Linked DNA regions of Homo sapiens: regions 1, 3 and 4 are each linked to region 2. The links are contacts of gene promoters, found by promoter capture Hi-C in blood cells and fetal thymus (Javierre and others, 2016). All regions are on one chromosome and are shown on one strand. Each heading gives the region's core, a stretch centred on a gene start or on the middle of the fragment in contact. The rest is flanking DNA. Distances are from core to core; before and after follow the strand shown. Region 1 overlaps CCSER1 (coiled-coil serine rich protein 1). Region 2 holds the start of CCSER1 (coiled-coil serine rich protein 1). Region 3 overlaps CCSER1 (coiled-coil serine rich protein 1). Region 4 has its middle 110 kb from the start of CCSER1.

Region 1 (4,283 bases), core at 1,062-3,561, 88 kb before region 2:
GGCTGCAGTGAGCCGAGATCGCACCACTGCACTCCAGCCTGGGAAATGGAGCAAGACTCCATCTCAAAAATAAAAAACAAAAAAACGTCTAAAGACTCCACCAAAAGGCTCCTGGAGCTGATAAATGACTTCAGGAAAGTTTCAGGATACAAAATCAATGTACGAAAATTAGTAGCACTGCTATACACCAATAACATCCAAGTCAAATCAAGAATGTAATCTCATTTACAACAGCAACACACAAAAAAATTAAATACCTAGGAATAAATCTAACCAAGGACGTAAAAGATCACTACAAGGAGAACTACAAAACACTGCTAAAAGAAATCACAGATGACAAAAACAAATGGAAAACATCCCATGTTCAAGGGTCGGAAGAATCAATCATTGTTAAAATTGTCATACTGCCAAAGGAAACCTCCAGATTCAATGCTATTCCTGTTGGTTGCCAAGTGACCAACATCATTTATCACAGAATTAGAAGAAAAATGATTCTAAAATTCATATGGAACCGAAAACCAGCCTAAATATCCAAAGAAATCCTAAACAAAAAGAACAAAGCTGGAAGCATCACACTGTACTATGGACTTCAAACTATACTATAATGCTACAGTAGCCAAAACAGGATGGTACTGGTACAAAAAAAGATGCATAGATCAATGAAACAGACTAGAGAACCCAGAAACAAAGTCACACACCTACAGCCATCTGATCTTCAACAAAGTCAATGGAAATCTCTTTTATAAATGATATCTAATACAGAACTGTAATGTGCACATCTTTAATATAAGTTGCTCTGACTGTCACAGTTTTGTAGTTGAAAGATCTTAAAAACATTCCCATCCACTGGACTATCTCAAAAACACTATACACCTCACTTCAATAATGGAAGCTTATGAACTCCAGCTGTAGGGAGAAATCCTTTGAGTCTTTCCTATATTATGCCTTAGTACACAGAAGAAGGAATTTAGAGCAAAACATCTGGCAACTAGTGAAGCGCTTTTCAAATTCAATGCATGAATCAATCACCCAGGAGTAGAGAGAAGTATTGTTAAAAAGCGCATTCTGATTCAGTAGGTCCGGGATTAAGCCTTAAATTCTGCATTTCTAACAAGCTTCCAGGTGATGCAGACGGTGCTGATTCAAGAACCACCACACATTTGAGTAGCAAGGGTCTGTGTTATATAAAAAGTTTCTGCTCCTTTCTACCAACTTATTCAAATCTCTTCAGGGATAAAGAGTGACAAATTTTATCCATCAGAATTTTTCACAGTTGGTGAGCGGAATTCATTAGATATTATCCACGTACATACAGAACACACACACATATTCACACACACTACAAACTCTGTCTTCTGCACCTCCTACATCCTGACCCTGTGCAGGCCCCCACCTCGCCCCTGCCCTTCTCTCCTGCTTCATGTTCTCAGGTAGTAAAGCCTGTTGGACAGTGAGTGGGTTCCAAAGATTAGATCTGGGGTTCCAAAGATTAGATCTGAGGCAGGTTTTCAATTTAGCCTCAGGTCTAAGATACATTTTCCATTGCACCTTTGCCAGAAAGTTCTATATTTTGAAATTATTGGGAACTATCTTGCCCATTATTAAAGCAGATACTTTGACCCACATTTGATCACTAGTGCCCTGTGTATATTTTATCTGTCAAATAGAGCACAGAGGAGTGTGAACTTGCTTTTATTTTTTTTAACCAGGTGTGCATATTTTTAAACTGAGATAAATGGTGTTTTTCCTGAACTTCAAGAAAGTCAGGTGATGTTGAAATCTATACAGTGAAAGCTTACTCACCCCTCATTAAACTTGCTACTATACTAAAGGTCGAAAGTAACTGATTTCACTTCCTGTAAACAAGTAGGTCAAGGACATCCTTTTTGTAGTCAATATGCTTAAGAAATATATACTTTGGTGAAAGGACTTTAATTCACTAAATGCTCACTCAAGTGAAAGACACTTTGAAAACCTTTTACAAAGAAAATATTTTTTATAACTAGCTTTGTAAAGAAAGGCTACAATGTAATCATGTATTGCTGATGATAATGCTTCACTAGTTGGGTATTACATTCAACCTATTTCTCAGGAACGGTGAACATGCTTAGGAGAATCTTTATATAGCTCCTACCTAATCATTTTTAAATAACCTATTTATTTTGATAGAATTCTATTCAACCAGAAAAACATAATGTAAAGAGAAAAATATAGCACTCAAAGCATTAATTCATGACACATTTCTTTAAAATTAATGAGCTGTTAGAATTCATACTCATCTTTCTTCCCTTAATAACAAATCTGTCAAAAAGAATTTACATAACTGTACAATCAAACACAAATTGAAAAACCTAACAGGAATGCTATATTAAAAGGAATAAAATTAGAATAAAATGTAACATTCCTGGAAGAGCATATTTACTAGAATATTCAAAATTCTTTGTAAAAGGTAATGTGATTCACAACAAGGGAATCCTTTAACCTCTCTGGACCTCAGCTTCTTCATTTATAAAAGTAGAAAAATGTTTTTTTAAAGTCTGTTATCTCAAAAGCCTATATGATTGTTCTAATTTCACAATTTACTCTCATCTAGGACTGAATTAGCAGAAACTCTGATTGTGCCTTTGTTATGTAGCAAATCCACTGACTTGGCCAGATCTTACAGTATTTCTTTAGGAAATACATCTACTTTTTATTGCCTTGTAATGACCTAGCAACTGCATGGCTACATGATGTCAAAATAACTGAGAAATTCACAGTTAATTCATTTTTGTGAACAATATTTACTGATTATGCTGAGTGATCACATTTTAGAATCATAAGCTTTAATCTCCAGCGTTTCCCTGGGTGCTCTCCAGCAATCCTATTAGTGCATCCCTAACTCGCCTAGGTGATATATTCATATTCTTTACTCTCCTCTCAAACCTCCAACACCTTCTCCTATTATCCTCACTCTCACATTGGTCTATTACTGAAAACATAGAAGCATTTTGAAAAGAACTTCTATAGACTCCTAGTTCCACATTCCCAATCCACTTGCAACTCTGTCCATGTAATCTCCCTTTCTTACCACTGCTAAAGATAAACACCTCCTGTGTCTATCCAAGGCCAGCTCTCCCATATTTGCACTGCGTTCCATCCCCTCTCAGCAAATTAATCGCCTCATTCCAGAAATTGCATTCCTTCTCCATTACATGGTTAATTTTATCTTCTTTAGATTATTGCCTACAAATTTATTCAGATTATTCCTTATAAACATAATGTATTAACCTTAAAAACAAACAAAAATTCCTTAATCCCTCTCCTCCCTCCAGCTATTGACTTATTCTATTCTCTCTTTTATGGCTAAATCATTCAAAAGCATCTCTCATCCTTTCTGTCTCTACTTCTGTTTTCTCCAATTTTCATTTAAAGATATTCCAGTCAAGTTTTTGTCACCACAATTTCAATGAAGCAGCTTTTGTCCAAGTAATGAATGATCTTCATATTGCTAAGACCACTGCTAAATTCAGTCCTCACCTTATTTAAGAACTAGCATCTGTCAGTGTTGACTAATCCCTTCTTGATGTACTTTCCTTACTTGGCGTCGAGTACAACAAACTCTCCTGGTTTTCCTCCTCACTTCTTGGCTTGTCCCTCACCAAGCATTTGCTGGTTCTTCTTCATAGTTTCCACAATCTCCACAAGTGCACACTCCTCAGAGTTCAGTTCGTGGACCTCTCCTCTTTATTATGTACACCCCTCTGCCAGGTGATCTCACCTAGTTCCACGTGGTAAATGCCCAGCTATATACCGTGGACTTCCAAATCTCTATCCCCAGCCCAGATCTAGCCTGTGAAATCCAGAATCACATATTCTATGGCCTACTCAACATTTTCACTTAGATGTCCAATAGACATCTCAACCTTACCACATCCCAAAGGAAATACCTGGTTTTCCTCCAAATACTTGCTCATCTCACAATCTCCTTCCCCATCTCAGAAAATGGCAATTCCATATTTACAGTCCAATCTAAAAACCAGGCATCCTATGTCCCTTTCTCACACACTTCATATTAATCCTCTAGCAATTCCTTATGACTCTCTCTCCACTGCTACCACCCTGTCAGCTACCATTGCTTTCTCCTGATTACCCTGCTATCAGGGTATTTTCAACACTGATGCCAGAGTGCACCTGTCAAATCAGAAGTCAGATCATGTTGCTCTTCCTTATAAAGCACGCATAACCTTTACTATGTCACACAGATAAAACCCAAAATCCTTACAAATGCCTTCATGATCTAA
Region 2 (3,952 bases), core at 64-2,563:
ACGCACGCAGAAGCACCATTCACAAATCCCTCCGTCACCCTTACCCCTTGCTGGCACCGTGTGTACGAGTCCCTGGGACACAAGCCAAAAGTCGAAGGGGCCAGGGGGCCACATGCGGTTTCAGCTTACGGCTGACTTTCTGCTCAGGTGAACCAACCCACTGGTTAGTCCAGAGCGCGCGCGCGCGCGCACACACACACACACACACACACGCACACAACCTGGGGCCCTTGACGCTCCACCACAAAGCAAGTGGTTCAATCTAAGTCGCTGCCGTTACTGCTGCCTCTGGGCAGGGTCTTGCTTCCAATCCAGGAAACTGGCGCCAGAGGACAAGCAGGCGGAGGCAAGAGGTGGTCCCGGCCCCGCACTGCGGTTCCTCCGGGAGCCCCTGGCTCCCCGCCCCCTCCTCCCCTTCCCCCTCTTCGCCGCCGTCCCCGCCTCAGCACCCGCAGCCCGGGGCGCCAGCGCTGACCGGTCGCCTCTACCTGCGGGACGCGAGTGGCGAGGAAGGGGAGCGACCCGAAGCCTGCGCCAACTCTCGCCGCCTTGGCCAGCGCTCCGCATCGCCCTGGAGCGGCCGCCGCGGCCGCAGGCAGCAAACCACGCAGCAGCGTGGAGGAAATGGCCACGCGGCGCACTGGGAGTCGCGGGCCGGTGGTGAGCGAGCCCGCCCGCCTCCTTCCCACCCCGCCCGCAAGGCCAGGTCTCTGCGCCGAGCACGCCGGGCCTGGGCGCGCGCTGCTCGCAGGCGGCCCCGACACGGCGCGGTCACCTGCCGAGCGGTCATCCCCGCGTCCGCCTGCGGCCGGCCCCGCAAAGCGGCGACGCGACGCGCGACCCGCTGAGCGCTGAGGCACCAGGGGCGTTACTACCTTGAGGGCTCCGTGCGCTTGTTAAGGCTCCTCCCGGGCACTCAGGGATTTATGTCTTCGGGGCACGGGGGTGTCCTTCCTGGTCCCCCTCCTCTGCCCTCCCTCCCCTTCTCGGCTGTTGGGCTCCTCTCCACTCCCAGTTGCACAGAGTCCAGCTGCGTTATTTAATAATCCTCCTGCTCCTCCTGCCTGCGCCAGCGGAGCTGCTCTGCCCGAGCCACCGCTTCCCAGTCAGTCATGTTGAGACAGAGAGAGAGAGAGAGGAGAGGCGGATTGGCAGTAGGTCGGCGACTATTTGTGGTGAGGGAGAGAAGAGCAGAGCAAGAGGAGGGCAGGGGAGGGACGTGGGGAGGCGCTTCCAAGTGTGTGAGTGCGCGGAGTGTGACTGTGTGGGGAGCGCGAGATCCACCTCCCCGGCAGGCCGCGCTCCGGGGCTGTGAGGAGGGCGGGCCCAAGCGCGGCCTTTATACAAGGAGGAGTGTGGTGGGCTGGGCGGGGCGGCTTGGAGGGCGGTGCCCGGCCCACTGCGTCCGCCGGATTCCACGCACGCATCCTCTGGCATCGACGCGCGCACACCCACTGCTGGCCCGCTGCTGAGTTTTCATTTTAGGGGAAGCAGTATCCCACCGTGCTGACCTGGCCTTTTCCCCCAGTCCATCCTAGTGCTTATGTGGAGTTCAAGTGCATAGGCAGGTCAAGACTAAAGAATAGGGGAAGTCTGAAGAGACGTGAAGTGACTGCGGGGATGCTGGAAATAAATGCACTGTATTTCTCCTCTCCAAGGTTCCGATGTTATCTTTTTTCTCTTCCTCCTGTAAGGGAAGGAATTACCAGATTCTTTCGCCGCTTTTCCTTCTCACCCACACAATTCACATCCTGACAAGTGTCTTCATTCCTCAGTAACAAGAAAAGAAACCTAGCTTCTTTCCTTTAAGCAGGTCACACCTCCCAGGAACCATTTGCAGCAATCAATTCTGTAAGATAATGCAAGCACTGCGACTGTGTCCGAGAGTGGAACTTGTGTTCCTACAAGGAAGGCCCTACACAATACAGGCATTACAAGAGAATCAGCTCAATTTGACATCATTTGACTGATGGTCCCCTGGAGAAAATTTGCCAGTTTAGAAATCGAAAAGACTTTTGATGCATGGTTCTGTTGCCTACATAATTTATTTTCCCCTGATCCTCTCTCCCCTTGCACTGCCTCATTTCCTTTCAGGTTTACACTAAGTACTGAACTCTTTCCCATCCATCCCCTTCTTTATCTCCACTCCAGTATATTTATGCCTTTAGCAGGCAATACAGCAAATGTAGTGCATTTAATTCTGTGTGTGTGTGTGTGTGTGTGTGCGCGCGCGCATCTGTTTTTAACCCATTCTGGTAGAATGTAGGACCATTTCTAGGTAGAAAATGCATCCCCAATATTAAGTTTGTACGCCTAACATCACCTCCCTTACCTTCTGCCCAGATTACAAGATGTTGTGATCAGGTGCACTGAGGTATTGAGAAAAACTTCCAGAAATCAAGTGATCTACAGTTTTTTCAAGGTGTGTTTGTGTGTGCGCGTGCGCGTGCGCACGCTCTGTGTAATCTAACTGGCTATGATCTAACTTCTGAAATGTGGTTATATTGGGAATAAAAGCAAGATGTATTTTTTAAATGAATCTGAGTGGTCAATGTATATTACAGCATGGGGACAACTCTGCTTTTGGGAGACAATTATAGGAAACATTTTTCATAAATTAGACAAAAGGAAGATAAGATTTAGGAGGCTACGGAGGAGGCGGCAAGGTTGACAATTCAGTTGTCCTATCTTCTTCCATGGCTTGTGACCATCGTACATCTTTAGGGTTTTGTCATATGCTGGCACCTTATATATTCTCCACATATTTTACCCTTTCACATTGATGTTCCTGTCTCGTAATTCTTCAATCTCTCATACAGAGTTTAGCAAACATTAAAAATGATTTAAGCATGTGATCAAGACCTAACAAAGAAGTGATATTAAGGAGTGTGATAAAAACAAAGTGATATTGGAAAGGACAGCAAGTTGGGACAGGTGCGTGAATATATCAATAATATAAGTATATAGGCCATTAAAGCTTCTTTGATTAAGCACTGGAAAAATGAATGGACTAACAAAGCATATTGGGATTGATAGTGTGCCCTATGGGACAGCTATTATTATTTCCTCAATTTTACAGACCAAGAAAGTTAAATTTTGAAAGTGTGTGTAGATAACCTAAGATCATACAAAGAATAAATAATGTCAATGGAACTCAATCTGTCTTATTCTACTGTCCATATCATGTCCCATTCAGAAGGCCTGGCTTACTTAAAAATCTCAGGACTTTCCTTAGAGCTTTTGTTTATGAAATAAGCTGACCTACAATCCTTTGGCATTTTTCTTCTACCTCCCTCCTTCTTTTTACAATGCAAGAGCGATTTATGAAATGTTAATGTTTTTTAGGGCTGGTCAACAATTTAAAAAGTCTTAACATACTTGAACTCATAAATGGAAAAAGAAAACTTTCCTACACAGTCCTTTCTGAAAGAAACCTGGTGTCATTGTAAAACGAAATTTTGTAGAGGAGATATTACTGAACATTTGCATCTAGTGAATACATAGGTGGTTTGAGAGCCGTAAACAGACATTTTAAAAGGTTATGTCCTCCTAAAGGGATGATACTCAATCATATTCAGCAAGTTTGTGGTGTTTTCAGTGTCCTGGTTCTCTATTTAATTGTCATTAATAACAATAATTTGATTATGACTGTATATTGCATACTTCAAAATTATATATTAGACCAGATATTTCAAGGGCATTTTTGGTAACCACAAATGATAGTAATTTTTACACTCTCAGTTCCATTCATAATTACTGAGAACCATGAAAAGCTGTCAATTGCCTTTATTCATTACGGTATTACAGGAAGCCAACATTTCTTGCTTAATTTTCTGACAATTTTTCTTTCCAAATAAAGGCTAGAATTTATATGCACTAGACCAGAAAGACATGTGAAACATATAACTTAAAACATACTCCTGAAAAGTTTATTCATTTTAATGATTTTGTA
Region 3 (3,903 bases), core at 294-2,793, 110 kb before region 2:
CAAGTGATCTGCCCACCTCGGCTTCCAAAAGTGCTGGGATTATAGGTGGGAGCCACTGCGCCCAGCCTATGCTTTGTTATTTTCATGGTAGATAAAGGTAAATTCATTCACAGATCTTAAATTCAGGGTTAGTAGATTTAACTAACTAGATTTGATGATAGAAGATTCTTAGAATACAATTTCATACCAAAGCATATTTCTTGTCCTATAATCATTCCATTACTAATTTTATAGATATGAATCATAATAGTTTTTATAGCATCACCTATTTTCCATATTACAATTAAACCATTTGTACTTAAGTATTAGTTTCTCAATGTTAATGCTCCTGCAACACTCTTAAAAATGTAATTGCTAACAATTTATCTGTTGGATTTATTCATGTTGGCATTTTTTTAACCACGTGTATCCCTTTCCTTCTTTTCCCTAAAGAAAAAAAAATAACACCCTAAGGAAAGATTACAAATCCAAAGCAAATTGTCAAAGGAATAACAGTGTTTCTAGAAAGGATTTTTTTTCTTTTAAGAAAGAATAAATGATGTATAACAAAAGTGTTCTGGCTGCTAGGAAAATAAAATGTGATTGCCATTGGTAATTCCTATGTTAAAGCAACAATAGACATAAATATTGTGAATGATTTACCATCTAGCTGTTACTGTCGTTCATAATAAACCACCATTATCTAGGAATTATTAATATGTATCTTTGTAAATATCATATTTGATACCGGCATGCACCTCTTTACCTGTCTCTTACGTATACATAATATATAATAGTTGGCAACTCATTCATACATGATTACAACAGTATATGAACATGAAAGTAAATGATAGCACCTATAAAGCACCAGAAAGCAGTCACTAATAACATTTTCTCACCTAAACCACAATAGTGGTTGTACTAATAACAGAGAAAAACAATGACTGACTAGTAACAAATTGATCTATGCACTCGCATGCTCCTTAGTGCCCTATCATCAATATTGCTCTTTAGCTTTGTGAAATGAACTATGTGCTATTACTAGTGCACACTCTGGGGCTAAACAGTTTCCTCACTTGCTTATAAAAGTGATTTAAATGGTTTTAATTAGAATAGAGTCTATTGATACACCATGAATTCCTTTGACTAAAGCTGCTCAAACACTCAAAGAATTTGAGCATATTTACAGTGGTATATGTAGACAGGCTTTCATTCCCACTGCAGAGAGCTATAGGTGGTGTCTTTGAAGGATATGGTGAAAAATAAGCACAGGCCTAAGATCAGCTACTGAAAACTAGGATAATGTGACTAATCCAGATGGACAAGTCCAAGGGGCTAAAATTGGGCACCTGAAAGCAACATGACATTCTTACGGCATTTAGAGTTGTCATTTTTGCCACAATATTAGCTATAACCAGCACCTAAATGTAAGGCAATGTGTGCTAGTTATGAATTAATTGCCTCCCAGCTCCAAATGCACTTTTCCACAAATATATGTCCTATGATCATAGATAGAATTCTTTTAAGTATTTCTTCTTTACAATGGGTGTGATGCTGAGTGTTCCCAGTAGAGGAAGCTGGAGGGACACTGCAGGAGGAAGGGGCTCTTCCATGACTTCTGGTGACACAGGAGTCAGTGATTTGGGTAGAGGTGTGAGGACATTCAGTGTAGCCCTGCCAAGCCATGCAGGGTATAAGAACGTGTGGTTGCTTGCCAATCTTGCAGTCTCAAGCTAGAGACAATCTTCCCAAGGCCTTCTCCAGAAAGAAATGCCCATCAGAGTCAGAATTCCCTCTGTAGGGCTATGGGCCATCTACCTGAAGCCCCCTCCCCTCTGGCAGTCCTCCTGAGTCCTACTGAGTCCACTACAGGCCCCATACTCTTCCCTGGAGGGTGCTCATGTCCTCTGAAACATAGCCACTGGTTTGGTTATCCATGCCGACTATTCTACTGGCCGCCAGCTTGCCCCATGACTATGGGCCATCTCTGGATGCTCAGCCAAACTCGAAAACTTCTCTGCTCTCCAGTGAGATGAATTACACCTTCTCTTTAAGATCTGATCCTCTTCCAAGTTTGTCATTCTTTGGTTACACTCCTTTAGCTTCAGGGTACCACTTAGGTTTCTCTATATCTTAGAGAGAAGTTACTCTTTTGTCATACTTTAATAATATTTTTAAATTAAACTCACTAGTTTAACCTACTATGTGGTTTTCCTCTTCAAAGTGGACTAGTTGATACACAATTCTTCTAAAACTTGGTATTGAATCAATCTGATTATGATTCACATTTGGAAATAATTACAAGCTACAACTAAGAACAAATAAAAATACAGAATTGGGGCAGGTGCAGGATCGTGCCTATAATCCCAGTACTTTGGGAGGCTGAAGCAGGAGTCACTTGAGACCAGGCGTTCGAGATTAGACTGAGCAACAATGCAAGAGCCCACATTTACAAAAAAAAATTAAAAATAATTAGCTGAGCATAGTGGTGGCTAAGGCAGGAGGACTGTTTGTGCCCAGGAGTTGGAAGCTGCAGTGAACCATAATTGTACCACTGCTCTCCAGCCTAAGTGACAGAGTGAGACTCTGCCTCTAATATATATATAACAGATCAATCTATTTAAAAGGAAAAATCAGTTGACTACACATTACAGTATCAAGTAAATGAGTTATTTTGAATATTAGCTAATAGTAGGGCTTAAATTTCAAATACATAGTGGCAATTTTTTACATTAACGTGCTGATCTTTCTATGTCAAAGATCAATGCATAAAGTGCAGTATATGTCTCAGTATCACTGAAGTGATCAATATAACTGACTGTAGCCTTCAAAATTGGTGTTGTTTACAAAGATTAACTCCTATGGGATGTATGTTTATTGTTTCCTAATTAAAGTCCAAGTGTGCTTTTAATCATGTTAAACAACTACTCAAAAAATGTGTTTTTGTTATTGACTAAAACTTTCTGGCTGGGCACGGTGGCTCACACCTGTCCCAACACTTTGGGAGGCCCAGGCAGGCGGATCACCTGCGGTCAGGAGTTCGGAACCAGCCTGGCCAACATGGTAAAACCCCGTCTCTACTAAAAATACAAAAATTAGCTGGGTGTGGTGGCAGATGCCTGTAATCCCAGCTACTCAGAAGGCTGAGGAAGGAGAATCGCTTGAACCTGGGAGATGGAGATTGCAATGAGCCGAGATCATGCCATTGCACTGCAGCCTGGGCAACAAAGTGAGACTCTGTCTCAAAAAAAAAAAAATTAATGCTAGAAGAAATCCACCAAGCTAATATTTTAAAAAGACTGTTTTCAGAAGATTTAATTCCTATAGAGCTCCATTACAGACAAAACAAAACAAAATCCAAAAGTAAATGTTCTTTATAGTATTACAGAGATCATATTGTTCAAACTGTTCATCTTGATTCTTTCAGATGTATGTGTGTGTATGTGCGCACGAGTTGAGGGGGTGTGAGAAGGAAGTGATAGGTACCCACGGCAGAAAAAAGTCACATTCAACCAGGACAGCTCTGTTTCAAGGGCAGTATCACCTGACAGTAGAAAACAGTTTAGGGTTAAAAACAAAAGCACTAACAAAACCTGCATCCTAAGCAAAATATTTCATAGAAAATGTTAGCTGTTGCATTATTTTATTTGGCAAGCTTGTTTTTCCTATGTGAGTCTTCAATACCATTTGTACAATGCCAGACTGAGCTCTCTAATACCTCACAAGCTTTACTTCATTAAGACCTTCTTGTAATCTAAAGGAATCATGTGAGGACCCTTAATAAGGTATGCAACAGAAGCAATGATTAACAGAACCCCAGACTACTCGATCACTAAAATACCATTCCTGGAGTGGATTGCTGGACATCACCATACCCCTACCTCCCCATTATCCCAGATAAACAACTGAAGTTATATAAGGTAC
Region 4 (3,907 bases), core at 496-2,995, 110 kb after region 2:
TGCTCTTTAACCTCACTTTGAATATCCAGGAAGTGCTCTGGGGTGAGTGGCAGTCCCATGCCATTATTAAGATAAAGAATTCTGGGGTTTTTTTGTTTTTTCATTTTTTTCCATTTTCTAGGTTATTTTGTTTTCCTATGAAATCTAGTGGTGCAGAGTAGTTAGTTATAATACTCGCTGATGCTTTGCATTTTCAAGCAAGGTAAGATTCTATAGTCAGAGGTGATTTTTAGTTTTTTAAAATTAAATAAGTTTTGTTTATTTTTTTGAGACAGAGGCTGGCTCTGTTGCCCAGGCTGGAGTGCAGTGAGTGGCTAACTGCAACCACTGCCTCCCTGGTTCAAGCAGTTCTCCTGCCTCAGCCTCCCGAGTAGCTGAGACTACAGGCACCTGCCACAATGCCTGGTTAATTTTTTGTATTTTGGCAGAGATGGGGTTTCACCATGTTGCCCAGGCTAGTCTCAAACTCCTGAACTCAGGCAATCTGCCTGCCTAGGGCCTCCCAAAGTGCTAGGATTACAGGCATGTGCCACTGCACCTGGCCTATTTTTTTTTTTTTTTTTGGTAAAATTAAGTTAATTTTATAGAGTAGCCATATGTAAAGAAAAATATCATGACCAGTTGTGTTCAGACAGATCTATGGTTATAATATACATTTTCTTAGTGGATAAATGTCCAAGGTATTGGAAAACTTTAGGACCGAAGTCCTGCAGATTTTGATCGACAGCATCAATTGTTTCTAAAACATCCTATATGCTCCTGCATTGTTCCACCATATTCCATGGACGGTTTTTCAAACAGACACTTGATCACACTTTCCATCTAGTCTAGCTCTATCTTGGTCCACACATCCACCCTGTGCCCTCCAGTAGCTGAGCATTTCTCTAATCCATACATTTAGCATTGTAGGTGAGAGGACAATCTCAGGATGATGTAACTGATTAACCCTGGTGGCACAGTGCCCATGATGCTCCTAAGCCTTCAAACTGTAATTTGAGGGTCTATTTCATGGCAATTCAAGAAAATGTTCCCTCTCTTGAGAAGAAACAAAATGGAGTTCATATTATAGTAAACTTTCTTCCATAATACTTTAACCAGGTATGTACTAAGTTATAAAATTATAATTAACCAATCCTGCAATGTACTTCTGCCACAGCATCTAGATTACCAATGACTTTTCCCAGTACATTCTTGAGGCTTTCCTATCAATAACTAAGGGATGAAGATAGGTGTGAAATGGAGAGAAAGTCTCATTCACCTATTTAGGTTAAGTGCCGTGCCTTGGCTTGATTTACAGTCTTATCAAGACCACACAAAATTGGGTCGTGACAATTTCCTAAAATGAATTTTGGCTGCTTTTGCCAGAAGAAGAGGGATTAGGAAGGTCTACAAAAACCTAAATGTCTGCACCTTCAGCTTCTGGCTACTGAACTTGAATCAATTCATTTTTTTCCCCTTGTCTCTTAGATGGTTTAAAATACCCACCTTCACAGTACACACACATCATTCTTTTCTAGAATTTTATCATATCCTCTTTGTATCAAAGGGATTCGGCTACAAAGATTTCTCTAAATAGCAAAGAATGGATTTATTTCAAGGATAAACCAGATAAAGTATTCTTCCCTCAAAATCAACATGCAACTAAGGATCTCTTCGTATTTTTGAGTTAAGTGAATATAAACTGTTGCTCCTCAAGAGATATTAGTGTGTAACAAGAATAGCTGTAGTGAATTTCTATTGGCTAATTAAAGTAATCTTTCATATAAGTGTGCATTTTTAATAACATCACCATTAAACATAAAAATGAGACAGGGTAGAAATCCTTTGATTGTGATTGATACTCTTAGAAAAAAGACGAGAATAAAATATATTTTATTTTAAACAACAGGACCTTCATCTTCAGGAAAAGCTGAGTGACAAAAATTAATATTCATTATAAGTAACTCTGAAAAGCGATCTGGACATCAGTTTACACACATCTGGAAGGAACTAAAGTCTAGTAATGAGAAATAATGCACTTGTGAAGCATACAATCAGATATAGATTAATACTACTTTACTGCATTTGTCAGGTCAGCACAAATAAATTATGAATCCTCTTAGAGAGCTGAGAAAAAGTGATTTCCTTTAAAATAGAAACTATTATTAATATGCTAATAATGTGTGACTGATGAAATCTATAATTCTAATCATATATGGAACAGTATAGGCTATATTTAGATGCTTAGTTAGTAGTTATATATTAAAATAGAAGGAATGATTTTTAAATGTTTGTTTCCAAAACAAATGATGATTTCCACTCACATTTAATGTCAATGAAATCTTGAGTTTATTCATAATAATCTGTGTATGAAGTATACATAAAAAACACATTTCATTTTTGAGGTTAAAATAATTTATATATTACTTTCAGATCAAAATACACAACAATAAGAAAAATAATTTTAAGAATAATCTGCAATTTATTTTGAACAAATCTGAATACTGGTTAAAAAATATTTCAAACTTTATTAGAAGTTTAAAATATCAGATTTAAATTATTTCAAACAAAAGATACTGCTACAAAACTCAGTGTGAAAGACTGTTGCTGGATTCATAAATGTAATGGAATTGCACTATTGAGCTACCTCATATTGAGAGTATTAAGAATATAAAATAATTACTGGTGTATTTATTTATTTTTATTCATTTATTTTTTAAGTACACCATTTCTGGTATATTTAAACTCATTTTCACTTCTCATAAATTGCCTCTAAAGAATGTATTTACAAAGCATTAAGGACCTGTGGACCTGCTTATCCAAAAAATGTCCACTAGGTTTATGAGACTGGACAGTTCACCATGCCAGTGGTAATGCATACAGAAATCTGGCTGGCTGAAAAATCTTACGAAAATCACTCAACTTCTCTGGTCTCATATTTCTGATTGGCAGAGCACTAGGATTTCTAAAAGTTCTATTTTAGCTGATATCTATAAAAGGAAGATGATGGGAGCATTGGTATGGCAAATGAGGATCAGAGATCTCTATAAATCATAAGTGGAGGATAAACAAACTTTGTAATGCTCTTCTTTATCCCAGTAACTCCTCTTGCTTTGAATTCTGCTGTCTAAGTTTAATATGGCCACTACTGCTTTCTTTGGGTTAGTGTTAACATAGTAAATTTTTCTCTGTCCAAAGTGAGTTTCTTGTAGACAACATATAGCTGAGTTTTATTTTTTGATACACTCTGACAATCTCTGTCTTTTAATTGGTATATTTAGGCCATTTATATTTAAAATAAATATCTACCATATTTGTTATTGTTTTTAATTTGTTCCCCTTGTTCTTTGTTCCTATTTTTGTCTTCTGCTCCTTTCTGCCTTTTGTGGTTTGGGGTATTTTATATGATTTTATTTTCTTTCTGTTCTTAGCATATCAGTTATACTTCTTTTTTTCCCCCGTTTCTTCCCGAGAACTTGCAACATACATTTACAACTAATTTAAGCCCACTTTCAAATAATATTTTACCACTTAATGGGTAATGTGAGAACCATATAATAACAAGACAATCCTAATTCTCCCTCTTGTCCCTTGTATCATTACTGGCATTCATTGCACTTACATATAAGCATACATATGCAGATGTACTAAAATACATTGCTGCCATTATTATTTTGAACACACTGTCGTCTGTTAGATCAATTAAGAATAAGAAAAATAAGTTTTTATTTTACCTTCACTTATTCTATCTTTGGTGCTATTCCTTTCTTTATATAGATCTGAGTTTTTATCTATATTATTGTTTTTCTCTCTAAGAGACATTTCTTTTAACATATCTTGTAAAGCAGATCTGCTAGAAAGACATTCCCTCAATTTTTATTTGTCTGAGAAACTATTTCTCCTTCACTTCTAAAGGATAATTTTGCAG

The links. Contacts are between HindIII fragments. The CHiCAGO score rates a contact against its expected background, and 5 or more counts as called.
Region 1: a contact is called between a fragment that was not itself captured here and the fragment with the promoter of CCSER1 in region 2, in 1 of 17 cell types (M2 macrophages). The highest score is 7.6, in M2 macrophages.
Region 3: a contact is called between a fragment that was not itself captured here and the fragment with the promoter of CCSER1 in region 2, in 1 of 17 cell types (M2 macrophages). The highest score is 6.4, in M2 macrophages.
Region 4: a fragment that was not itself captured here is called in contact with the fragment with the promoter of CCSER1 in region 2 in 1 of 17 cell types (total B cells); the score reaches 5.3 in total B cells.

The regions. Positions count from the first base shown.
Region 1 is chr4:90,212,997-90,217,279 of GRCh38, reverse strand. All of the region lies in intron 1 of CCSER1 (coiled-coil serine rich protein 1), which reads right to left. Among named protein-coding and RNA genes, the nearest start is that of CCSER1, 88 kb to the right of the region's middle. The HindIII fragment of the contact is 1,029 bases long and covers 1,797-2,825 here.
Region 2 is chr4:90,124,755-90,128,706 of GRCh38, reverse strand. It overlaps CCSER1 (coiled-coil serine rich protein 1), which reads right to left and starts at 1,313. Exons shown (of 11, transcript NM_001145065.2): 1 at 876-1,313. RefSeq lists silencers at 196-445, 556-755. The HindIII fragment of the contact is 6,776 bases long and covers 1-2,979 here.
Region 3 is chr4:90,238,189-90,242,091 of GRCh38, reverse strand. The region is part of intron 1 of CCSER1 (coiled-coil serine rich protein 1); the gene reads right to left. Among named protein-coding and RNA genes, the nearest start is that of CCSER1, 110 kb to the right of the region's middle. The HindIII fragment of the contact is 4,187 bases long and covers 1-3,636 here.
Region 4 is chr4:90,017,944-90,021,850 of GRCh38, reverse strand. No RefSeq gene overlaps it. Among named protein-coding and RNA genes, the nearest start is that of CCSER1, 110 kb to the left of the region's middle. The HindIII fragment of the contact is 6,025 bases long and covers 1-3,907 here.